Linked DNA regions of Homo sapiens: all the other regions are linked to region 1. The links are contacts of gene promoters, found by promoter capture Hi-C in human tissues and cell types (Jung and others, 2019). All regions are on one chromosome and are shown on one strand. Each heading gives the region's core, a stretch centred on a gene start or on the middle of the fragment in contact. The rest is flanking DNA. Distances are from core to core; before and after follow the strand shown.

Evidence for each region. The method cuts DNA at HindIII sites, captures the fragments that hold promoters and counts their contacts. A contact is called where the count stands out against the background at its distance.
Region 2: a contact is called between a fragment that was not itself captured here and the fragment with the promoter of CPA4 in region 1, in 1 of the 25 tissues and cell types used here (mesenchymal stem cells).
Region 3: a contact is called between a fragment that was not itself captured here and the fragment with the promoter of CPA4 in region 1, in 2 of the 25 tissues and cell types used here (IMR-90 fibroblasts and aorta).
Region 4: a contact is called between a fragment that was not itself captured here and the fragment with the promoter of CPA4 in region 1, in 2 of the 25 tissues and cell types used here (lymphoblastoid cells and mesenchymal stem cells).

What each region holds. Positions count from the first base shown.
Region 1 is chr7:130,287,973-130,294,410 of GRCh38, forward strand. CPA4 (carboxypeptidase A4) reads left to right here and starts at 5,189. Exons shown (of 11, transcript NM_016352.4): 1 at 5,189-5,276. The coding sequence starts at 5,209. CPA2 (carboxypeptidase A2) reads left to right here. Exons shown (of 11, transcript NM_001869.3): 11 at 1,588-1,826. The coding sequence ends at 1,775. RefSeq lists an enhancer at 5,594-5,683. The HindIII fragment of the contact is 11,774 bases long and covers 1-6,438 here.
Region 2 is chr7:130,450,145-130,456,780 of GRCh38, forward strand. No RefSeq gene overlaps it. Among named protein-coding and RNA genes, the nearest start is that of CEP41, 12 kb to the left of the region's middle. The HindIII fragment of the contact is 3,297 bases long and covers 3,552-6,636 here.
Region 3 is chr7:130,433,557-130,439,749 of GRCh38, forward strand. All of the region lies in intron 1 of CEP41 (centrosomal protein 41), which reads right to left. Among named protein-coding and RNA genes, the nearest start is that of CEP41, 4.4 kb to the right of the region's middle. The HindIII fragment of the contact is 7,843 bases long and covers 553-6,193 here.
Region 4 is chr7:130,107,663-130,114,550 of GRCh38, forward strand. The region is part of intron 2 of KLHDC10 (kelch domain containing 10); the gene reads left to right. Among named protein-coding and RNA genes, the nearest start is that of LINC03008, 31 kb to the right of the region's middle. The HindIII fragment of the contact is 6,751 bases long and covers 989-6,888 here.

The sequences.
Region 1 (6,438 bases), core at 3,939-6,438:
TGACAATGATAGTTACAAACATAACTGACATTTATTGAATGCTTATTCTACATACATTATCCTAGCTCCTTCACTTAATATCCCTGTTTTTATTTTATTATTTTATTTAGTTTTTTAGAGACAGGGTCTCACTCTGCTGCCCAGGCTGGAATACAGTGACAGGATCATGGCTCACTGTAGCCTGGACCTCCTGTGCTCCAGCAGCCCTCCCGCCTCAGCCTCCTGAGTAGCTGGGACCACAGGCATGTGCCACCACATCTAGTTCATTTTTTAAAAAATTTTTTTGTAGCGACAGGGTCTCGCTATGTTGCCCAGGCTGGTCTCAAACTCCTGGGCTCAAGTGATCCTCCTGCCTTGGTCCCCAAAGTGTTGGCAGAGATCCACGATGCCTTGCCACTTAATCTCTTAATCTCAGTTTCCTCATCTGTAAAATGGGAATAATGCTAGTACCTACCTAGAGATTCACAACCAGTTTAACATAGTGCCTAGCACATTGACACAGCCAATAGTGTCATCACAACCATTATGCCATTTAATTCTCACTCCCCTGTGAAACAAGTAGTAATATCATCCCTATGTGACAGGTGAAGCATCTGGAAATAGATGACTTGCTTTAGGTCACTCAGATAATGATTTGTAGGGTTGGGATTCTATCTGAGACCAGTATTCTGTCTACAGTTGACCTCTTAGTGTGATTGGCTGTGTCATGTAGACACACCAAAAGGTATGAGTTGGTAATTTTGGTCCAGGGAAGATTCAGTTCAAATCAGCAACCATTTAGTATTTATTATTTACCAGGCATTAATTTCCAAGCTGCTCTGCTGGGTGAAGGCAAAGACAAAAATCATGGGCGTTGACAATATTAATTCACAATATTAACCTCTAGCCCTACTCTTTTCTGGTACAACCTCCCTGGTCTTTCCAGCCCCATTCTTAGGGACTAGGTAGCTTCCGACATCTGTGCCTCAGCCGAGTCCTCCTGTGACCTCTAACTGCCCTTCCTGGGAGGGGCCACAGGGCCGGTCCATTGCTCGGCTTTTCTGAGTCATGACTGACTTGTAAGTTAATGCCATCTTCCTTCTTCATCTGTCACATCAGCGGCCACACAGATCTCAGGTGCACATTACTGTGTTGGCTGAACCCACCACACAGAGGTGCTGTACCTGCAATTTGATAGCAGAGCAGAGAGTGCTCCACCCTTAATGCTCAAAGTCCCCTGAGGGTAGGGACCAAATCTCTTACTGCATTTGTAATCCCTCCACTCCCACTAGAGAAAACCATGTCTGTGCCTTCTAAAGAAGGAAGTGGTGTGGCCTACCTAAGGTGGAGAAGAGGCCACTTAGGATGGCGTGGGCTCCTAAGAGCACTGAAGGAAGGCTCAGTTCAGTGTCCGCTGAATAACACCTTTTGCTTTTCAAATTATTGTGTTTTTTCATAAATGTGACCCTCTACTAAACTCTCCCCCCTCTTACAGTTCACACCTAGGGGCCTGGCTTACCTATGATAGTAGAATTTAATATAGAGGTTCCATTGCGTGAAGGCTAGTGGTAGTCGTGTAACCAAACTTTATTCTCGTTTGCACTTCAGACCAAGCCAGTGGAGGAAGCATTGACTGGTCCTATGATTATGGCATCAAGTACTCATTTGCCTTTGAACTGAGAGACACAGGGCGCTACGGCTTCCTCTTGCCAGCCCGTCAGATCCTGCCCACAGCCGAGGAGACCTGGCTTGGCTTGAAGGCAATCATGGAGCATGTGCGAGACCACCCCTATTAGGGCCCTGGGGAAGAAACAAGAGCCATTAAAATCTCTTTGGTTTGAAGCAAAGTTGGGTTGTGTTGTTTATTTTTCTAAGCCTGATCTGGCAGCACCGTTTCTCCAGTTTCTGCTGCCCTCAAACACAACAAGTCATGGCATTGTACCCCTTCATCTTTTAGAAAATCCATCCTGGGGCCAGGCGTGGTGGCTCACCTGAAATCCCAGCACTTTGGGAGGCTGAGGTGGGACGACTGCTTGAGCCCAGGAGTTTGAGATCAGCCTGGGCAACATGGGGAGACCCCATCTCTAAAAAGAATAATATTAAAAAAAAAAATCCATCCGGAGCAGAGTGCTCCCAACATCATTTGACAGTTTTTGTTTTTGTTTTCCTTTTGAGACAGAGTCTCACTCTGTCACCCAGGCTGGAGTGCAATGGCGCGATCTCGGCTCACTGCAACTTCTGCCTCCCAGGTTCAAGCAATTCTCCTGCCTCAGCCTCTCAAGTAGCTGGGATTACAGGCACCTGCCACCATGCCTGGCTAATTTTTGTAGTTTTAGTAGAGACAGGGTTTCACCATTTTGGCCAGGCTGGTCTTGAACTCCTGACCTGAAGTGATCCACTCGCCTCGGCCTCCCAAAGTGCTGGGATTACAGGCGTGAGCCACCGTGCCTGGCCCCATTTGACAGTTTTTTATTGTGTTAAATTATACACAAAACTTACAATTTTGACCATTTTTAAGTGTACAATTCATTGGCATTAAGTACATTCACAACGTTATGCCACCATCACCATCATCCATCTCCAGAACTTTCCTATCATCCCAGACTGAAACTCTTCCCCATTAAACCATAACTCCCCATTCCTCTTGCCCTTCAGCCCCTGGCAACTACTAGCTACTTTCTGTCTCTACGAATTAGCCTATTCTAGGTATTTCGTATAAGCGGAATTAAACAGTATTTGCCCTTTTGTGGCTAGCATTTTTTTTTTTTTTTTTGGTTAATATAATGTTTTCAAGGTTCATCCATGGTGTAGCATGTGTCACTGCTTCATCGTAAGAGTGTAGCATTTTAGGGCTAGCAATGGACTTTCAAGTTCATGTATTCAATAAATACTCATGAAGCAACTGCACTGTGCCAGGCCTCGTGCCAGGTGCTATACCTGGTTCCATTGTTGCCTTTGGTTTTTCCTTTCCTGGTGTGCTGCTTTATGAAGACTTGTGGGGCAGGGCATGGTGACTCAGGCCCGTGATCTCAGCACTTTGGAAGGCTGAGGTGGGAGGATCAGGAGTTTGAGATCAGCCTGAGCAACACAGTGAGACCCCGTCTGTACAAAAACAAAACAAAGCACCCGTCATGGTGGCAAACATCTTTAGTCTCAGCTGCTTGGGAGGCTAAGTTGGGAGGATCACTCGAGCCCAAGAGTTTGAGACTTCAGTGAGCTATGGTCGCACCACTGTACTCCAGCCTGGTCGACAGAGTGAAACTCTGTCTCAAAAAAAACAAACACACAAATGGTGGGGACCCAAGCCAATGACATTCCTTTTTCCTGGTTGCCCTATCAAGCCTCGGTCTCAGGTTGCACACAGTTTCTCTTTAGATATTGACTCCCATTAGGGATTTAGGTTTTCTTCATGTGGATGATTTTCCCTGGGAGAAAAGGTAGGAACTAAATTTCAGCTTGCCTAGAATGCTTGGTCCTTGATTCTCCCACTTCACATCTCTTACAGATTTGGGTCTCAGTTGTTCTTGTTGCTGACTTCAAAGCTGACATCGATCTCAGTGACGCTGAGCCCACGCTTTGTGGTGGACAGGGTGGGTGTAGGAATTCAGTTGAAGTGTTGAGAGGACAAAAGGACCCTGAGGGAGCAAGAGGAGATGATGGCCCCTAGCTCCACAGCTCCTAACAAAGGCTCTCTCTGGGACCACACTTGAGATTCTGCACCCTCCTTTTGATTAGGCTGGTTCTTGAGCCCTGGCTAAGCCAGCCTGAGCAAAGATCCTGCGAAGTCATCCCTCCCACCTTGATATCTGATCAAGTTCCTCATCCCCACCTTTGATGGGGACTTTGATGTATAAGTCCTTGGCCTGCTTTTAGCAAGAATCCCCCTACCTTGATGTCTTCTCTTAGTAATCCCACTGATCCTCTCTGTTTTCTTTGCCGTATTCAGTGTTAAGCACAGTAAGTCTTTCCTACTGAAATAGCCATGGTCCTAATCATAATAATCTTGAATTAGGTCTTACATTTTAACACAGGTCAGGATAGTTTTTCTTTAACTCTCTCAACTATGACCCTTGGTTGTGTCCACTCCCTTTGAGTGGGTGTGGAAAGCATGTAGACCGTAGGGAGGGTGGGATGGGAAAGGCTGTGGGAACTGGGGCTCCCAGGACAGACTCAAAGGTCCCAGAGCCCCTGAAGGCGTTATGGAGATATGAGTGTCTTCCATTTATTCAGCTGTGACTTGGCGGAAAGGACACCAGACCCACAGTCTAGGAAGTATAAGAAAATCTTATTATTTATTTATTTATTTATTTGAGATGGAGTCTCACTCTGTCGCCCAGGCTGGAGTGCAGTGGTGCGATCTCGGCTCACTGCAAGCTCCGCCTCCCAGGTTCACGCCATTCTCCTGAGTAGCTGGGACTACAGGCGTCCGCCACCACGCCCGGCTAATTTTTTGTATTTTTAGTAGAGACGAGGTTTCACTGTGATAGCCAGGATGGTCTCAATCTCCTGACCTCGTGATCCGCCCACCTCGGCCTCCCAAAGTGCTAGGATTACAGGCATGAGCCACCTCGCCCGGCTGAAAATCTTATTATTGATAAAACCATTAAGCCTTCCCCATAGATCAGACCCCAAGGAACACTGATAATTTATTCAGACTAAAACATCCTTTCTATATCATTTGCCTGATACATTTCTATTTCCTTAGTGGAGTCAGAAGAATTAGGCTTCAGATACATAAAAGAGGCCCCAAACCTCTTTCCTCATCCTGACCTGCCCTGGTGAAATTCTCTGGCAGGGCTTGTCAAGCATGTGGTCTTGGAGCCAGCTCAGTCTTGCTTTGATAGTCTTAACTTTTTTATTATTATTCTAGAGGTAATTCTATGCCAGGTTTATAATCTGACCTCTCCTATCAGGATAAATTCCATCCAACACTGTGGAATTAGCTTATTCACTGAAAAAACACTATTTAAATGCCAAGTGATGAGCAATATGGTACCCTTGGCACAGACTTTTTCAGCTCCTGGAGCAAGTTCCTGACCTTGTAAATTGAGATGCTCAACCTTTATCACTTGAAAGGAATGGGAGAGGCATTGGTAGGGCCTGCCTGTCACAGTCAGAGTTGCAAGGGTGCTTGGGAATCACATTAGCATTTTTGAGGACTTGAGTCACTCTCAGACTCTTTATAAATACAGCTTGACTCAGCCACTGTATGACTGACTCCCCGGGGACATGAGGTGGATACTGTTCATTGGGGCCCTTATTGGGTCCAGCATCTGTGGCCAAGAAAAATTTTTTGGGTAAGTTCCTTTTGGACTTATTATTTGGTTATTTCAGAAATATGGGAGCCAAATGGAACTGAAAATGAATGGCTGATAATAGCTCACATGGAGGAAGAAGACCTGGGCTCTTGTTCCAGCTTTGCCCCTGTGTCATCCTGGACAAGTCCACTCTCTTCTCTGAGACCCCATTTCATCTGTGAAATCAGGACTAGATGATCATTGCAGTCTCTCCCCAGCTCCCTCATCTCCTGCCAGTTCTTTTTCTGCCTAGTTCTTACTTATAAGGTCAGTTCCAGGCATCTACTTTCTTACTCCTACCTTATTAATTACTAAGAGTTACTGGTTACTAAGAGCTACGTTATTAATTACTAAGAGTTACTGGTTACCAGAAATGGTTTGTTTCCAATTTCCGCCATGCATAAAGGGAAACCCTGGGTCTCAAGCTTGTTGGTTTCACTTCTTTGTTAATGGCGAAGGCTTTGCAGAGCTGGTGCCTTCTCTTGATCTGCAGTTTAATGCTCTACCCCTGAGCTACACCCTCTTCTGAGCTGGTGCTTTCTTACTGGCTTCTGGGACGTGGAGATTTCACAGGTCTTGCCTAGACACAGCTATGAAAATGACATGCAGAGACACATGCCTGAACACCGTGTGTGTGTGCGCGTGTGTGTGTGCACACACACACGTGCTCAACACGCTCCATGCAGAATACTTTGAGGTTTGCAGGGGAGAGGACATTTGGGTGGTAGGAGAGATAAAAGGGATACCATGGTGCCCTGTTAGAAGACTGAATTATAATAACTCATTACTGCATAATACTTTACCATTTGCAAAGAGCTTTCATGTACATTATCTTTTTGATCACACAACAACTTTGCCAGGCAGGGGTGTTATTTTCTTCCACTTAAACATGAAAAAAATCAGCCTTAGAATGTTAAGGAACGCGCTCAAGGCCACTTAGCTGGGAAGCAGGGGAGCTGGAACTCTGAACGTAAAACTCGTACCCTTTTGCTATAACACAAGTTCATCTCCAAATAAAATCCTATATCTCTTGGATCTGTCTCTTAGTTTTCTTTCTATTTTACTATCTGGCTAATGAGACTTTGGGGTTGTTTTTTGAGGTAATTACTTATATGAGATTGACTAAGTTTTATGATGATGACTTCTGTTCACACCTGTGTCT
Region 2 (6,636 bases), core at 3,950-6,449, 160 kb after region 1:
CAGCCTGGGCAACAGAGTGAGACTCTGTCTCAAAGAAAAAATAAATAAATAACTCAAAATGGATAAAAAACCTAAATGTAAGAACTAAAACTAGAAAACATAAGGAGAAATCTTTACAACACTGGATTTTGCAATGAATTCTTAAATATGACACCAGAAACACAGGCAAGAAAGAAAAAAATAGATGAATGGGACATAATAAAAATTTAAAATGCTTATGCTTTGAAGAACGCCCTCAAGAGAGTGAAAAGATAACCCACAGAATATGAGAAAATATTTGCAAATCATTTATCTGATAAGCAATTAATATCCAGAATATATAAAGAATTTCTAAAACTCAACAAGAACAAAACCCAAATAAGAAATGAGCAAAGGACTTGAATAGACATGTCTCCACAGAAGATATAAATATGACCAATAAGCACATGAAAAGATATTCATCATAGTTATTCAAGAAATGCAAATGAGGCCGGGCACGGTGGCTCACCCCTGTAATCCCAGCACTTTGGGAGGCCAAGGCAGGTGGATCATCTGAGGTCAGGAGTTTGAGACCAGCCTGGGCAACATGGTGAAACCCCATCTCTATTAAAAATACAAAAATTAGCCCGGTGTGGTGGTGGGTGCCTGTAATCCCAGCTACTCATGAGGCTGAGACAGGAGAATCGCTTGAATCTGGGAGGTGGAGGTTGCAGTGAGCCGAGATTGCATCATTGCACTCCAGCCTGGGCGACAAGAGCGAGACTCCATCTCAAAAAAAAAAAAAAAAAAAAAGAAAGAAAAAGAAATGCAAATGAAAACCGCAATGAGCTACCACTTCATATCCAGTAGGATGGTTATTACATTATTATTAGAAAGAAAGAAAGAAAGAAAGAAAGATAGAAAGAAAGAAAGAAAGAAAGAAAGAAAGAAAGAAAGAAAGAAAGAAAGAAAGAAAGAAAGAAAACCAGTGTTGGTTAGAATGTGGAGAAGTTGGAACCCTTGGGCATTGCTGGTGGGAATATAAAATGGTGGGCTGCTGTGGAAAACAGTTTGGTGGTTCCTCAAAAACTTAAATATAGACTTACTAGATGACCCAGCAATTTCACTCCTCAGTGGTATATACTCAAAATACTTGAAAACAGAGACTCAAACAGAAACTTGTCCACCAATGTTCATAGCAGCATTATTCACACTAGTTAAAGGTGGAACCAACCCAAGTGTCTATCAACTGATGAATGGATAAGCAAAATATAGTATATATGTATAATGAATATTATTCAGACATAAAAAGGAATGAAGCTCTGAAACATGCTGTAACTTGCATGAACCTTAAAAACATGCTACATTACATAAGCCAAACAGAAAAGGGAAAATGTGTGATTTTACTTATGCGAGTTATCTAGAATAGGCAAAGTCATTCAAAGATAGAAAGTAGAGTAGAAGTTACCAGGGGCTGAGGGGAGGGGAGAGTGGGGAGTTATTGCTCTAAAGTTACAGAGTTTCGGCCAGGTGCAGTGGCTGATGCCTGTAATCCCAGCACTTTGGGAGGCTGAGGTGGGTGAATCATCTGAGGTCAGGAGTTCGAGACCAGCCTGGCAACATGGTGAAACTCTGTCTCTACTAAAAATACAAAAATTAGCCGGGCAGGGTGGCGGGTGCCTGTAATCCCAGCTACTTGGGAGGCTGAGGCGACAGAATCGCTTGAACCTGGGAGGCAGAGGTTGCAGTGAGCCAAGATTGTGCCACTGCACTCCAGCCTGGGTGACAGAGCAAGACTCCCTCTCAAAAAACAAAAACTTAAAAACAACAACAACAACAACAAAAACAAAAAAACAAAGTTACAGAGTTTTAAAGTTACAGAGTTAAAGTTTTGGAAATAGATGGTTATGCAATATTATGAATGTACTTAATGCCACTCAATTGCAGATCTAAATGTTTAAAGTGGTAAACTTCATGTTATGTACGTTTTACTACAATAAAAACAGACAGAACACAACCAAAGCTATACCAGCTATATTAATTTCAGAGTAGGCTTTAGAACCCTGCAGTGAACCTCCACAATGAGGCCTTTGAAATCCTGTCCTCTACCAATCACTTCCACTCAGTCTTTTACCATACCAAGAGTTCTTGCCATTCTGAAGACAGCTCTTCAAATGTGCCGTGTTGTCTCTGCCCTGAGTCTTTGTGCCTGCTTGTCCTTCTGTTTGATAAGTTCTCCCACTCTTCATCTGGTTACCTTCTACTTGTGCTTTAGGATAAAGATGGAAATCACCTCCTTCTGGAAGGCTTCCTGGGCGACCACCAACCCTCATCCCAGACTTTGGGAGGCGCTCTTTTTAAAGGCATCTGTGGGCTGCCATGCTATACTGTGATAGGCGACTTTCTTGTCTGCCTTCTTCACTACCCTATCAGCTCCTTGAAGGCAGGGATATCATGTCTCATTCTTTATATTCCTAGTACCTGGTATGGTGTCTGGTGTATGGCAGGCACTCAATCAATAGTTGTCAAATTAATATAATTATGGGACAATGCTCGTGAAGGGACATGGAAGACCAGGACATGAGAAGCTTCCCCCTTTAGCATACTGGTCATTCACCACCTTTTTTTCTACTGTCTAGTGAATCAGTATATAGGGCATAATGTGAAGTATCTCCCAATCTGATAAATAGTATCTTTTGATTGTTAAACTGGTGAAATCCACACACGATGGATGTGAATAAATGTCTGCAAATATCATCCTAAGAAACAGGATGCAACAGTGCCTGGAAACCTAATCAAAGCATGACGGAATGTGAAGGAAAGCTGTAACCTAATCAATGGCCTTAACAGCTGAAGAAAGAATATGTGAGCAGAAGGGGGGTGGTCTATAGGGAGTGCTGAAAAGTGGAGCCAAGGAACAAACATTTGTCATGATGTCTCTAGCCCTGTCAAGGGAAAGAGTTGTTTTTTGACCATTAGGCACAAGTATGCAGTCCACCCTATATCCCTATGGATGCCACAGAGCTCATCCAATTCCCTCCCTTTGTTCTGATTTCATGCTCACAAACAGCCTCCTGATTATAATTTGGCTTCCCATGTAGATTTTCCAACAGGAGAGAATGCGCTGACCAGTCAACATGAACATCTGGTCCATTTGGCAAGGAGCGTTCTCTTTGTATACGAATGCATTGGTGTTCTGGTTTCTATATCAGTCAGTTTATATACCCCAGGGTCTGCAGAGGTGCTCCTTCTTCCAGCTCTTGCTAGGACTGCCAGCAAGGTCCTGCTCCCCTTTGTTTGCACCCTTACCCAGCCAGTGTGGGCTGAGGACAAAGTATGAGGAGTCAGCCACAGCTCCTCCAGGTATAAACCCATCTTGCTTTGGGCTTACCTCTTCCTCATAGAGGTAAAGGGCTTTGGACCCACAGTCAGTGTTGATGGGCAGGACCTTCCCGCAGGGTTTTTCCTCTTCTTCAGAAGCCTGGTCTCTGCTCATGATACAGTGTTTTGTTTTTAAGATTCAGGGGGTACATGTGCAGGTTTGTTATATTGATATATTTCATGATGCTGAGACTTGAGCTTCTATGGAAATTGTCATCCAAATGGTGAACATAGTACCCAATAGGTAGTTTTTCAACCCTTGCCCCCTCCTTCCCTCCTTCCTTTTAGAGTGCTGTGTCTGTTGTTTCCATCTTTATGTCTGTGTGTACCCAATGTTTAGCTCTCACTTATAAGTGGGGACATGTGGTATTTGATTTTCTGTTTCTGTGTTAATTCACTTAGGATAATGGCCCCCAGCTGCATCCATGTTGCTGCAAAGGACGTGATTTCTTTTTTTTTTTAATGGCTGTGTAGTATTCCAGGGTGTATATGTACCACATTTTCTTTATCATGATACAGTTCTATCTTCCTGTGCTGTGGTTCCCTGCCAATACATTCATGCACCTTAGCAATAATTTTCAAAGGTCAGGGATTAGGAAAAAACACTTCCAGAGAACACAGCTGATATCGAGATGACTCTGGCTGTGGTTCACCCTGTCAAGGACTCAGGCATAAGTGGAATGGAGGAAGGAGAAGGAGATGGCCAGCCTCTACCCTGTTGAGTTAGTCCTGTTGGGATGGATGCTTGGATAATTTCTGTTGGTCCTAAGGCCTCCACCAACGTTTTGGTAGTGCTGTGGCTATTCTGGGGTGCTTTATCTTGATGGGCTGCTTTGAGTTCTGGAAAAATTTAGGAGCTAAGTTAATGGAATTACTGAGAGGAAATGCCAAATGGATTGTTGTTGGGCTGGAGAGAGGCCTTGTATACATTTTCAGGTTGAAAGGAAGATCTGTAGAAAGTAGAGAGAAGGAAGATGGGGTTGGTGAACCCTATTCTAAGAAAAGAAAAAAAACCTAAAAATTCGTAGTTAACTGGAGGAAATTAAGCATTTATTCTTCCTTTCTAGCAGGAACTGATTTCAGGGTAAGCAAATAGTCCCCAGTTGGTGAGGAAAAGCTCTGTCAGAAGAATGTCATCAAATAAATGCAGAAGGAATTATAAAATAAGAAAAGCAAAATTTTGGAAGCCCAAATAAAATTACTGATTCAGGCAAAAAGCTTCAATTGTTGTTAAAAAAAAATGCTGGGGAGCTAGATACTTGTATAGTACCAAACAAACACATCCCAGACAGCTTCTCAGTGGCAAGGAGGAAAAAACATACAATGAAGGGGTCAGGTTGTCAGCATCCTCATATCTGGGGGTGGTCAATCTTAGTTTTACTAATGGGTAGTGTATTAGTCTATTCATGCTGCTGATAAAGACATATCCAAGACTGGGCAATTTACAGAAGAAAGAGGTTTGATGGACTTACAGTTCCATGTGTCTGGGGAAGCCTCACAATCATGGCAGAGGGCAAGGAGGAACAAATCACATCTTACATGAATGGCAACAGGCAAAGAGACAGAGAGTTTGTACAGGGGAACTTACCTTATAAAGCCATCAGATCTCTTGAGATTTACTCACCTTCACTAGAACAGCACAGGAAAGATCCACCCCGATGACTCAATTACCTCCCACTGGGTCCCTCCCACAACATGTGGGAATTGTGGGAGTTACAATTCAAGATGAGATTTGGGTGGGACACAGCCAAACCGTATCAGATAGTCAGCTAGATATTATGTGTCCCCTGATGTAACTTGATGCAGCATACAATATAATTTATGGTATGTTCTAGCAAAATGTATTGAACTGAAACATAGAGTTCAGATATAACTTTTATGGGAAAACAAGAGATGGAGGAACAAGCTGAATGGCGTCATGAAGAAGCAATCAGAAAAATCAGAAGGACATTCTGCAAGATAACTGACCTGGCCTCTTCAGCAGGCCAAACTCATGGAAAAGGTACTGTGCTAGCTTCAAAGAGATTAAAGGGACATCAAAACAAGATGCAATACATGGTCCTAGATTGGCCATCCATTAGGGCAAACTAACTGTAAAGAAAAATTTTTAAGCAAATGGAAAAATTTGAATATGATTGAGGGTTAGTTGAAATGGAAACTTACAGAAATGGAAAGGCAACTGAAGTTTCCAGAGAGTATATTTAGTAATATGTCATTTGGTTAAAACATTACATATAAACACAAAGAAAGAGGCAAAAAGATATTAATGTGGGGCTTAGCAATTGTATATTCCCTTTTTTATTGAGATACAATTTACATACTGTAAACTCACCCATACATACCATATATTTACATACCATATTTTACAAGGTTGTGGCACCATCTCCACTATATAATTCCAAATTATTTTTATCACCCCAAAAAGAAGCCACATATACATTAGTACCCCATCTCCCCTTTCTCCACCCCAGGAAGCAATAATTTACTTTGTCTCTATGGATTTGCCTATTATGGACAGTGCATGTACGTGGAATCATATAACATGTGGCCTTTTGTAGCTGGCTTCTTTCATTTAATATAATGTTTTTAAAGTTCATCCATGTTATGGTATGTATGATTACCTCATTCCTTTTTGTGGATGAATAATATCCCATTGTATGGATATATTAAATTTTGTTGATCCATTTATTAGTTGATGAACACTGGGTTGGTTTGACCTTTTTTTTTTTTCTTTTCAGATGGAATTTTGCTCTTGTTGCCCAGACTGTAGTGCAATGGCGCAGTCTCGGCTCACTGCAACCTCTGCCTCCTGGATTCAAGTGATTCTCCTGCCTCAGCCTCCCAAGTAGCTGGGATTACAGGCATGCGCCAGCCACCATGCCCAGCTAATTTTCTATTTTTAGTAGAGACAGGGTTTCACCATGTTGGTCAGGCTGGTCTTGAACTCCTGACTTCAAGTGATCCACCCGTCTCTGCCTCCCAAAGTGCTGGGATTATAGGCGTGAGCCACTGCGACCAGGGGTTTGACTTTTTGACTATTTTGAATAATGCTGCTATGATCATCCATTTACAGGTTTTTGTGTGAACATATGTTTTCAATTCTCTTGGGTATATGCCTAAGAGTGGAATTTTGCCACATGGTAACTTTATGTTTAACTTTCTGAGGAAAAGCCAAACTGCAAGGCTGGGCACGATGGCTCATGCCTATAATCCCAGCACTTTTGGGAGGCTGAGACAGGAGGATTGCTTGAGCCCAGGAGTTCCAGACAACCCTGGGTAACATGGCAAGACTCTATA
Region 3 (6,193 bases), core at 3,224-5,723, 140 kb after region 1:
ACAGGCTCTTTGAAAACAACCAAAAATGTCAAAGACCCTTTGAGGGTTTACATAAAAGAAAATGTCCTCCCTGTCTACCCACCACAGCCCAGCTATTTCAATTCTACGTGACTTCCAAGACTCAGGGCAAACTTATCTTCTGGGAAGATTCCTCTGAAGGCCTTAGTCAAATGGAAATCTCTTCCTTGACTGAATATTCACAGTTCTTTGTACCATTCACACGTCTTACTCCTGCACTTGGGACAGGGGCTCTATCTTGTAGATCTCTGTACCTACTACAAGACCCTCTACTAATGAGAGAGCAACAAGTACCTGCCAAATGAAGACCTGAGCAACATGTAGTGTGCATGCTGGTGCCACGTGGGCAGCACGGACATGGAGGGCTCTAGGGAGGAATGTCAAAGGAGATTGTTCATCCACTGGGGGTGATAAGAAAGACTTCATGGAAGAATGGACACTGGAGCTATGTTTTAAGGGTTGATCTTCTGTGGATAAAAAAGATGGGAAGAAGGAATGGAAAAAGTATTCCAAGTGGAGAAATTTTTAATAGCAAAGCCACTTTAAAAGCAAGTTTAAAGAACAAATTGTTCTATTTGCCGGAGATGATTTAACAACAATAAGAAACATGGTAATGCTGCTAACATTTATTGAGTACTTACTATATCATCAGGCACTAAGCATTTTACCTACATTATCTCATTCCCCACAACCACTGTAACCAATATTACATATGCTATGTGAATTACATCTCAAAAAAGCTCTTACAGAAAAAAAATGTAAAAAGTAAATATATTTTTTTTAAAATTGCTTTTTGCTCTACAAAAGACCCTGTGAAGAAGATGAAAAGATAAGCTACAGACTGGGAGGAAATATTTGCAAAGCACATATCTGACAAAGGACTACTATCTCAAATATATAAAGAGCTCTCAAAACTCAAAAGTAAAACTATTCATTGCATCAGTGTTTGTAACTGCAGGTAGTCAAAAACAACCTAAATGACCATGGGGAAACTGATAGGTAAAATGTGCTCTAGTCACATGCTAGATTACTATACAATAGGTAAAGTAATAAACTGGACATATTTATCAACATAGATGGATCTGAAGCATAATTTGCATGATAAAAGCAAATCGTATACAAATAGCATAACACTATTTTTGTAAAATTTTTAAGCTCACAAAATAATGTCTGTTTTATATGAAAAATATGGCTGCTGAATTAGAAAGATATACATTAAATATATGGGAGCAGATGTCTATAGTCAAAGGAGAAGAGTGGGAATAAAAGCAATAAGAACCAAAATTGGCTATAACTGAAGTATACAGATAATCAAATCATATCAGTCCATTTGTACAACTGAGGTCTTACAGAACTAGCAAAACAAAAAAACAAATAAACAAAACTGTGATACAACCACACCAAATACTTAGGTAAGAGTTAAAAGGAAGTCATTACACTGAGGTATATTTTTCTGACATGGAAAGATCTCCAGGATATATTGTTAAGTGAAAAAAATCAAGTCAAAGAACTATATATACAATGTTGTAACATTTATGTAAAACAAAACTACAAAATAAAACTCTTATATTTCTCTCCATCCCCCAATCACACACATGTTCAAATGTACAGAGAAGGTTTGGAAAAGATAACTATGAAAACATAGTACATAGTGATATAAGAAAATGTCCTGAATTATTCATTAAAAGTATAGAATTAAAAATAAAGGAAACAGAAACTCCAGGAAAAAACAAAAAGCAGTAAGAAAGGAAATGTAATCCTACATTTCCTTGTTTTGCAATAATATTTACAGTCATCACCAACAACACAAAAGGAAACAAAAACTCAACAGTTAAGAAAAATAGAAAATAGGCAAAAGACACAAAGAGATATTTTACTGAAGAGGATATATGGATGACAGATAAGCACATGAAAAGATGTGCTTGGTATCCATTAAGGAAATGCAACTTAAAACCACAATGAGATGGCACTACACATCTATTATAAACATTAAAATAAAAAATATTGACAGTGTTGAACGTTGCCAAGAGTATGCAAAAACTGAATCTCTCATACACCCTTGGCAGGAATGTAAAATGGTACAGCCTCTCTGGAAAAGTTTGGCAGTATCTAATAAAACTAAACATATGTTTACCATACAACCCAGCAATTGTACTCCTGGGCGTTTATCCCAGATAAATGAAAATTAACATCCACACAAAGAGTTATACCCAAATGTCATCTTTATTTGTAATAGCCCAAAACTGATGACAACCAAAATGTCCTATACTAGTTGAATGGTTAAAAAACTGCTGTACAGGCCAGGCACAGTAGCTCACGCTTGTAATCCCAGCACTTTGGGAGGCCGAGGCTGGTGGATCATTAGGTCAGGAGTTCAAGACCAGCCTGGCCAAGATGGTGAAATGTTGTCTCTACTAAAAATACAAAAAATTGGCCGGGCACAGTGGTAGGAAGCTGTAATCCCAGCTACTCAGGAGGCTGAGGCAGGAGAATCACTTGAACCCAGGCAGCAGAGGTTGCAGTGAGCTGAGATGGTGCCGCTGCACTCCAGCCTGGGTGATAGAGTGAGACTCCGTCTCAAAAAACAAAACAAAACAAAACAAAAAAACTGCTGTACATTCATACCACAGAATACTGATCAGGTACCAGAAAGAATGAACTACTGCTACATGCAACAACTTGTATGCGACTCAAGGACATTATCTTGAGTGAAAAAAAAAAAAGCCAATCTCAAAAGGTCACATACTGTATGATTCCATTTATGTAAAATTGTCAAAATGACAAAATTATGGAGATGGTTACCCAGGGTTAGGATGATGAGAGGGAAGAAAGTAGGTGTGACCAGAAGAGTAGCTTGGAGATATTTCTAGTGATGCAATAGTTCTTTATCTTGATTGCAAATCTACATATATGTAAATCTTGATTAAATCTATACAAGTGATAAAATGGCCTAGAACTATACATACATTGTGCAAATTTCTATTTTCTAGTTTGATACTGTACTGTACTCATGTAAAATATAATCATTGGGGAAAATGGGTGAAGGATACATAGGACTTCTTTGTACTATTTTTTTTTTTTTTGCAACTTCCTGTGAATCTATACTTATTTTGAAATAAAACGTTTTTTAAAAGTACAACAGAGCAAAAAACAGAGCTCTTAAAAATTAAAAACATGGGCTGGGCACAGTGGCTCACACCTGTAATCCCATCACTTTGGAAGGCCAAGGCAGCAGGTGGATGGCTTGAAGTCAGGAGTTCAAGACCAGCCTGACCAACATGGTAAAACCCCGTCTCTACTAAAAATACAAAAAAATTAGCTGGGCGTGGTGGCAGGTGCCTGTAATCCCAGCTACTTGGGAAGCTGAGGCAGGAGAATCGCTTGAACCTGGGAGGCGGAGGTTGTAGTGAGCCGAAATCGCACCACTGCACTCCAGCCTGGGCAACAGAGTGAGAGTTTATCTCAAAACAAACAAACAAACAAATTAAAAACATGATGGCAGAAATTAAAAACTAAAATGAAGGATTGGAAGATAAAAATTAAATCTCCCAAAGGGAGCAGAAAGACAAAGATGAGGGAAACAGGAGATGAAAGTTACGAAAATCAGAGAACCAGTCATATAGGTTATCTATATGAATACAGAACATCAGAATAATGAATTCAAGAAAAAGAGGATGGAGAAAATAGGAGAGAGAAAGTTAAGAAAATTTTCAGACTAAAAAGACATAAATTTCTGGTGCCTATCAAAATGAGTGAAAATATAAATATCTTTGTAAAGTCACACTGGGGACAAAAAAAAAAGGTTCCACAAGCTTCCTGAGAGGAAAATTCAGTCACAAAGCAAGAGAATGGCTTTGGACTTCACAACAACACAAGACACTAGACCACTAAGCAATGTTTTGCAAGATGCTGATGATGGCCAGGTGTGGTGGCTCACACCTGTAATCCTAGCACTTTGGGAGCCCAAGGCAGGATTGCTTGAGCCCAGGAGTTCAAGACCCTCTTGGGCAACATAGGGAGACCCCATCTCTATAAAAAATACAAAAAAATGAGCTGGGCACGATGACACACACCTGTGGTCCCAGCTACTCAGGAAGTGGGAGAATCATTTGAGCCCAGGAGGTCAAGGATATAGTGAGCCATGTTTGTACCACTGCACTCCAGCCTGGGTGACAAAGCAAGACTGTCTCAAAAAAAAAAAAAAAAAAAAAAAAGAAAAAGAAAAAAAAAGATGTTGATGATTTTCAACCAATAATTCTATACTCAGCCAAACTCACTGGCAAATAAATGTTAAGGTAGAATAAGAATATTTTTAGACATGCCTAACATTTTAGACATAAATTTTTAAAACTATTTCTTATGAATTCTTTCTTAAGAAACTACTAGAAGTTGTGCTCTATTCAAACAAGAGAGTAAACTGGGCATCTTTGTCTCGGGCACAAACATAACCACACGGAACATACTTGCTCCTCTTCCCCCACACTCCTAAAACTATTCCTCCTTTTCGTTCTCCCATATTCTTGATCTCACTCATGGCGCCAGCACCAATGAGTAGTCTAAGCTGAGACTTAAGTCACCCATCACGCATCTCTCAAAGCTAATCAGGAAGTATTGATGATTTTGCCCCCGTAAATATTTATCCTCGATTCCATCCCTAGTTCAATGGCCTTAGTTTAGATCTCTATCAAAATAGTAACTATTGGCAGGGCGCGGTGGCTCATGCCTGTAATACCAGCACTTTGGGAGGCCAAGGCAGGCGGGTGGCTTTGAGCTCAAAAGTTTGAGACCAGACTGGGCAACATGGTAAAACCGCATCTTTACAAAATCCACAAAAACCAGCCAGGCTTTGTTGGTGTGCGCCATAGTCTCAGCTACCCAGGAAGCTGAGGCTGGATAATTGCTTGAGCCCGGGAGGTGGAGGTTGCAGTGAGCTGAAATCTCCCCACTGCACTCCAGCCTGGGTGACAGAGTGAGACTCTGTCTCAAAAATAAATAAATAAATAAAAAATAGTAACCACTTAACCAATCTCATTTCCAGTCCTGGAGCCTCCTCAAACCCATCTTCCACAATGTAGCTACAGCCATCTGCCTAAAATGCAAATCTGACCATGTCACTCCTTTAATAACTCAAAAAATTTCTCAAATCCTGACCAGCAGACAAGATAAATATGTGGCAAACTGCCATTCTCCTCACCTATCTCTCCCACCCCCATGATACACAATATTAACATTTTTATTAATATTTTGATAGACAAATCATAACTTTATACATTTATGGGGTACAATTTGATGTTTTGGTATATACACACACACACAATGTGGAATGATTAAATCAAATTAACATATCCATCAACCCACTTATCTTTTTTTTGAGGTGAGATATTTGAAATTTACTCTCATAAAATATACAATTTACTCTATTTTGAAATCTACAATATAGTTGAACTTTGGACAACATGGGCTTGAACTGTGCAGATCCACTTATACCCAGATTTTCTTCTGCCTCTGTCACCCCTAAGGCAGCAAGACCAACCCCTCCTTTTCCTTGCCCCTTAGCAATGAAGACAATTAGGATGAAGATGTTTATGATGATACACTGCCACTTAATGAATAGTAAATATATTTTCTCTTCCTTATGATTTTCTTAATAATAATCTTTCCTCCAGCTTACTTTAAGAATTCAGTACATAATACATATGAGATACAAAATATGTTAATCAAGTGTTTCTGTTATCAGGAAGCCTTCCAGTCAATAGTAGGCTATTAGTAGTTAAGTTTTTTTGCAGGGGGGAGGGGAGTAAAAAGTTGTACATGGATTTTCTACTGGGGGTTATGAGTCTGCTGTAATTATTATTAACTATAGTCACCATGCTGTGCCAGAGATCTCAAAAACCATTCCTCCTGTTTAACTGTAACTTTGTGCCCTTGGATCAACATCTTCCCATTTCTGCCCTCCTTCCCCCCACCCTCCAGGCTCTGGTAACCACCATTTTATTCTCTACTTCTATGAGCTGGACTTTTTAAGATGCCACGTATAAGTGAGATCATGCAGCATTTAGACATTACCAATTGACCATGGCTCTCTTGCAGGGCTTAGACTCAGCCTTACAGCTTTCTCAGCCTAGTACCAGGCAGCCACCAAGAGATGAAACAGTTACAACTCCTATTTGGGATA
Region 4 (6,888 bases), core at 3,114-5,613, 180 kb before region 1:
ACGAAACCCAGTCTTTACTAAAAATACAAAAATTAGCCGGGCGTCGTGGTGCACGCCTGTAATCCCAGCTACTCGGGAGGCTGAGGCGGGAGAATTGCTCGAACCCAGGAGGCAGAGGTTGCAGTGAGCCAAGATCGCGTCACTGCACTCTAGCCTGGGCGACAGAGTGGGACTCCGTCTCAAAAAAAAAAAAAAAAAAAAAAAAGAGCCGGACGCGGTGGCCCGTACCGTAGTCCCAGCTACTCTGGAGGCTGAGGGTGGAGAATGGCTGGAACCCGGGAGGCGGAGGTTGCAGTGAGGTGAGACCGCGCCACTGCACCCCAGCCTGGGGGACAGAGCAAGACTCCGTCTCCAAACAAAACAAAACAAAAAACCCTTCCCCGGGAAAAAAAAAACAAAAAACAAAACAAAAAAAAACTAGCTGGTTGAGGTCGTGTGCGCCTGGAGTCCCAGCTACTCCAGACGCTGAGGTGGGAGAATCGCCTGAACCCGGAGGCGGAAGTTGCAGTGAGCCGAAATCGCGCCACTGTACACCAGCCTGGGCGACAGAGCGAGACTTGTCTCAAAAAAAAAGAAAAAAGAAACTATACTCATGGACATCAAAAAAGACAAGAATAAATGGCTAGGGATTATGTTCCTTAATGGGTTATCCCAGATAAAATCCTCAAGGGACTTTTTAAAAATAGAATTTTAATTGCCATAGAACTTCCGGTTTAATTGCAAAAATTGCAAAAATGGTAGAAATTCTCCTGTATCCTGGCCGGGCACGGTGGCTCACGCCTGTAATCCCAGCACTGTGGGAGGCCGAGGCAGGTGGATCGCTTAAACTCAGGAGTTAGCCGCCTCAAGACCAGCCTGGGCAACGAGACGAAACGCCGTCTCTACCAAATATCCAAAAAAAAAAAAAAAAAGCTGGGCGTGGTGGTGCGCGCCTGTGGTCCCAGCACTCATCAGGATGCTGAGGTGGAAGGATCGCTTGAGCTCGGGAGGTGGAGGTTGCAATGAGCCAAGATTGAGTCATTGCACTCCAGCCTGGGCGACAGAGCGAGACCCCATCTCAAACAAAAAAAAAAAAAAAGAAAGAAAAGGGAAAAAAATGTCTCCTGTATCCTTTACCCAGATTCCCCAAATGTTATTTTGTCTTTTACTTTATCCTGCTCCCTCTCCTCTCTCCCTTCCCCCCTTTATACACAATACGCACATACATATTTTTCTGTTTCAACCATTTGAAAATTGCAGACATGATGTCTTGCTCTCTCTCTCTTTTTTTGAGACAGGCTGTCACCCTGTCGCCCAGGCTGGAGTGCAACAGCGCCATCTCAGCTCACTGCAGCCTCCGCCTCCGGGGTCTAAGTGATTCTTCCGCCTCAGCCTCCTGAGTAGCTGGGACTGCAGGTGTGCGCCACCACACCCTGTATTTTTTTAGTAGGGTCAGGGTTTCACCGTGTTGACCAGGCTGGTCTCGAACTCCTAATCTCAAGTGATCCACCCGCCTTGGCCTCCCACAGTGCTGGGATTACAGATGTGAGCCACTGAGCCCAGCAGGTCTCTTTTTTTTTTTTTTAATTTTTTAAAATTTAATTTTTTTTAGAGATGAAGTTTTGTTCTGTCACCCAGGCTGAAGTGCAGGGGTGCAATCATAGCTTACTGCACTCAAGCGATCCTCCAGCCCACCTCAGCCACCCACGTAGCTGGGACTACAGGAATGTGCCACCATGCCTGGCTAATTTTTTTTGGCAGGGTCGGTACAGATAGGGTTTCACTATTTTGCCATATCTCTTTATGTCTGTGTACCAAAGTGTTTGCTCCTGAAAAACAGACATTCTCTTCCATAACTGCAGAACCTGTATCAAAATTAGGCATCAACACTGATTATTAACCCTATAAATAATGGGTACAATTAATACTACTATATAAGTTACAGACCTTGTTTCAGATTTTGCCATTATTATTTTGCCACTATCCTAATAATGTTCTTTTTGTTTGTTTGTTTTGAGACGGAGTCTCACTCTGTTGCCCAGGCTGGAGTGCAGTGGTGCAATCTCAGCTCATTGCAACTTCCACCTCTCAGTTTCAAGCGATTCTCATGCCTCAGCCTCCCGAGTAGCTGGGATCACAGGTGCCCACCACCACGCGTGGCTAATTTTTGTATTTTTAGTAGAGATAGGGTTTCACCATGTTAGTCAGGCTGGTCTCAAACTCCTGACCTCAGGCAATCTGCCCGCCTCAGCCTCCCATAGTGCTGGGATTACAGGCATGACCCACCGTGCTGGGCCAATAATGTTCTTTAATAGCAGTAGAAAATCTGAGATTGTGTGTTACATTCTGTTGTCATGTATCTTTAGCCTCCTTCAGTGTTGAACAGTTTCTCAGCGTTTGTCTTTTTGACATTGATATTTTTGAACAGTTGCAGGCTAGGTATATTGTAAAACGTCCCTTTGTTTGGGTTTCTCCCCATTTTCTCATAGTTACATTCAGCTTATATATTTTTGGCAGGACTACCACTGAAATAATATTGTGATCATCTCATTGCACATGATGTTGATTGATTTGTCCCATTACTGGTGATGTTAATTTTGATCACCTGGATAAGATGCTGTCTGTCCATGGGACTTTTTATAGACTTAACAAACTCATTCTAAAATTCATTGCAAAAGTAAATGGAGAAAAATAACTAGAAGTTTTTGGGAAAAAGTAATACAAAAGGGAATTTGTTCTAAATATTGAAAGATAGTTCAAAGCTATAATAATTAAAACAATGTGGTAATGAGGGCCAGGCATGGTGACTAACACCTGTAATCCCAGCACTTTGGGAGGCCCTGTGGTAGGAGATGCTTATATAACCAACAAGTAATATTGTGGGCTGGTGTGAATGGATTGCTTTGGTCTGAGCAACTTGGGCTCTGGGAGTAGTAAAAAGTTGTACCTGCCTTTTGGGGGATATGGGAGAGCTAACTGGATCAAACTTCCTTGGCTTTCCTTGAGGCTTCTAGGTCCAACAGAAGACCTGTCTTTTGTGGTAGAGGTAATTGTGGCCTTTACATTTGGAAAGAAGTAACCAGTTAAATTGATTAATCATTTAGGCTGTTCGATATTTATAACTAATGAATACTTTTAATAATAAGTTTTTTTTTAAAATGGCCTCACCACAAATGTTCATTAGCACATCTGTAGGTGGCTACATCTTGTAAGTAATAGACTTACTAAGCAGTAAATGTTATGTACTACTTTATTTACAAGCTTTTGTATTTAAGCTTCTGTGATGTTCTTTTATATATTTACATATTGTTTATATATATTTACATTCATATATTCTTAAAGAGCAATAAATTTTGTGTCCAAGGGGATTAGACCTGAATATTGGGATTTTCCTAATTCTACTCTAGAACATGTCGATTTAGTATATGGTAAAGGTGGCATTTCAAATAAGTATAGGAGGGGTGGCTTTCTTTAAGTGGTTTGGGGACAGTAGCCTGTTTATTTTGGGAGGAAAAATTAGAGCCCTACCTTATACAACACACAAAAATATAAATTCTGATGTATTCGAATTCTGAATATAAAAAATCAAAACATGAAATTATTCGAAACAAATGACAATATCTTAATCATTTTATAATAATGCAGAGGTGAATGAAATATAGAACAAGGGAGCTGTAAAAGACAAGATTGAGAGACTCAACACCTCTGTATGTTAATAGATGCCGTAAACAAAAGACAAGGAGCAGGCTGGAAGAAATACATATAAAATAAAGAATTTGGGGCCAGGCAAGGTGGCTTATGCCTGTGATCCCAGCACTTTGGATGGCTGGGGCAGGAGGATCATTTGAGCTTAGATTAGAAGTTCAAGACCAGCCTGGGCAACATAATGATGCCTCATCTCTACAAAAAAAATAAAAGAAGTAGCTAGGTGTGGTGGCTCATGCCTATAGTCCCAACTACTTTAGATGCTGAGGTGAGAGGATCACTTGAGGAAGAGAGGTTGAAGCTGCAGTGCGCTGTGATTATGCTACCACAGGTAGGTCTCACTCAGCCTGAGCGACAGAGTAAGACCCTGTCTCAAAGGAAAAAGAAAAAAAAATTACACAATGGTGAGAAGACAACCTAATAGATCTAAAAAGTAGGCAAAGGAGATGATCCGGCAGTTCCAAAAAGAAGAAATACAAATGGGCCAATAAACATGTGAACTAGTAAAATAAGGGAAATGCAGATTAACCTGACACCAATTTATACCCATCAGATTGGCACAAATTTGAGAAGGCTAAAGAAAGCATGAAGAAGTAGGCACTGGCATAACATTGCTGGGAGTAGAAATGGGTCCATTCTATTTGGAAAGCAGTATGGCCCTATAACAGTATTGTATCTATTAAAAATTTTTTGTTTTGTATTTTTTATTTTTTCTATAAAAATTTTAAATGCATATTCCTTTGACCTAGAAATTCTACCTCCAGAAATTCTCATACATTTGTATACAAATATATGTAGAGGAAGCTTTGTTACAATATTATTTGTAGTAGTGAAAACATTGGAAACAACTTAACCTTCTGTCACATTATCTCAGACAGCTAGCTTCTTTCTGCCTTTGGGCTAGAAACTGAAACCCATTTCCCTGGTTACCGTAAGTTCCTGCTTGCTCCCTGGGTAAAGAGCAAGTCCTTGTGACATGGAAGAGAGGATGGGTCCCACATCACAGGGACATAATCCTTTAGCTTCATGTTCCCTTCTGGATATTAAGTGTTTACCTGTGAATACAGGTTCTGTTTTAATTTTTTGCTTTTACATTTCCCACTGGGAGTTCCTGAATCAGGTAAACGAATTCTATGGTAGATTTTATTAGCAGCAAGTAATTTTTAGGAAAATGGGATTTGCAGATGGAGAAGTTGGGGGAGGATTTAGAGAGCTACTTTAGACCCTGAAACACAATTTCAGTTTTGTCAAGGTTGAGGACCCTATGCTATATTTCACCTAATAAAAATTAATGCTTAGTCTCCGTGGCATTAATCCAGACAGACAATTCCCATGGTTTATCCAAAATGGAATGGCTTTTTAATATGTTAGTCACTCTTGGGTTATAAATATGAGAAAGAAATCTGTAGTTACTGGCGAGAGAGAAAGAGGAGTTGCATTTTTACTCTCAGCTATGAGATTCCTTGACAGGATGTTTAATATTTATCAAATATTGATTAGATGCTCTTTACCCAAAAGTGTGATTTGCAGAGATCGTGAAATTATTAACAGAAACCAACAGTTGGGCTGGATCAGCACTGTGTCAGAAATAGGTAAACCACAAAATTAAAATTTTTCCAGTACCCACATTTAAAAAAGTAAAACAGACAGGTAACATTAATTTTATTTAATATTTTTATTTAACCCAGTATATTAAAAATATCATTTCAACATACAATCAATATGAAAACTAATAATTTCACATTCATTTTTGGGTACTAAGTCTTTGAAATCCAGTGAGTATTTTACATGTAAAGCACAGTTCAGTTTGGACCACCCACATTTCAAGTGCTCAGGAGCCATATGTTATGGCTCATGGCTACTGACTTGGGCTGTGCAGGCTGGACTGTAAGCTCCCAAGGACAGAGGTAGTCATTGCCTTATCACTGTATCCCCAGCACCTAGCACAGTACATGGTACTTAGTACATAGCCAGCATCCAATAGTAACTTTTTTTTTTTTTTTGAGACGGAGTTTTGCTCTTGTCACCCAGGCTGGAGTGCAGTGGCACGATCTTGACTCACTGCAACCTCCACCTCCCAGGTTCAAGCAATTCTCCTGCCTCAGCCTTCCGAGTAGCTGGGATTACACCTGCCTGCCACCACACCTGGCTAGTTTTCGTATTTTTAGTAGAGACGGGGTTTCACCATGTTGACCAGGCTGGTCTCAAAATCCTGACCTCAGGTCATCCACCCGCCTTGGCTTCCCAAAGTGCTTGGATTACAGGTGTGAGCCACCATGCCTGGCCCAATATTTTTGACCTGAGTGAGTGAGTAGAGAAATATGAAACCGTCTTTTCACAGACCCCTCAACTGTGTAATCCATGTGAATTGTATTTGTCACAGAGATAGTTGGCAATAAACTTATAACATTACTTTCCCTGCTGTACAGCCATTTAGAGAAAATGTAGAATAGACTGCATTTCTTTTCATATTTGCCCAAAAGCAGCTTTAAAAATTATCTGTTGGCTTCAGGTAATACAGCAAATGACAGAGATTTTTAGAGTTCCTGTCTGCTGAACATAGCAACTCTGTTAGATTTCTTCTTTAAATTTGTCTTGCTAATTCTTAGAAAGAAGCATTTGTGCCTTGAGAAGAACATTGCATAATCCAACACCCGTGCCTTAAACCATGTATCTGTTAGGCATAATAATACCAAAGTCCACTGAGAGTTAGACACTGTTTTAATCTTCCCTGTCGCTGTTTACTTTGGCCTGACGTTAAAGTCAACCAAACTTTTAGTACCTGTTTTTAGGTACTAACTGTTTTAGGTGTTGTGGGTGATACAGGATAATTATTATACATGACCTTTGCCCTTGAGGAGCTTATAAACTGTTTGGAAAAGAAAAACAAACTGACAAAATGCATAGAAAAAATTAAATGCCAAATAAATTGATTCCCGTTTCATTTAGTGTTTGCTGTGTGCCCGAGGCTTGGTTATAGAAAGGTAAATACAAATGTATTCCTTTTCCCTCAAATAGCTCACAGCCTCCTAGAAAGTTACCTGTATAAGCCAATAAACATTTCAACATGACAAATCTAACAAATCTTTGAAGTGCAGTAATAATATCCCAATATGCAAATGAGGAAGCTGAGACTAAATGAAGGTCAGTGACTTGCTCAAAGTAGCAATTAGAAAGAACCTGGATTCAAACTTAGACATTTAT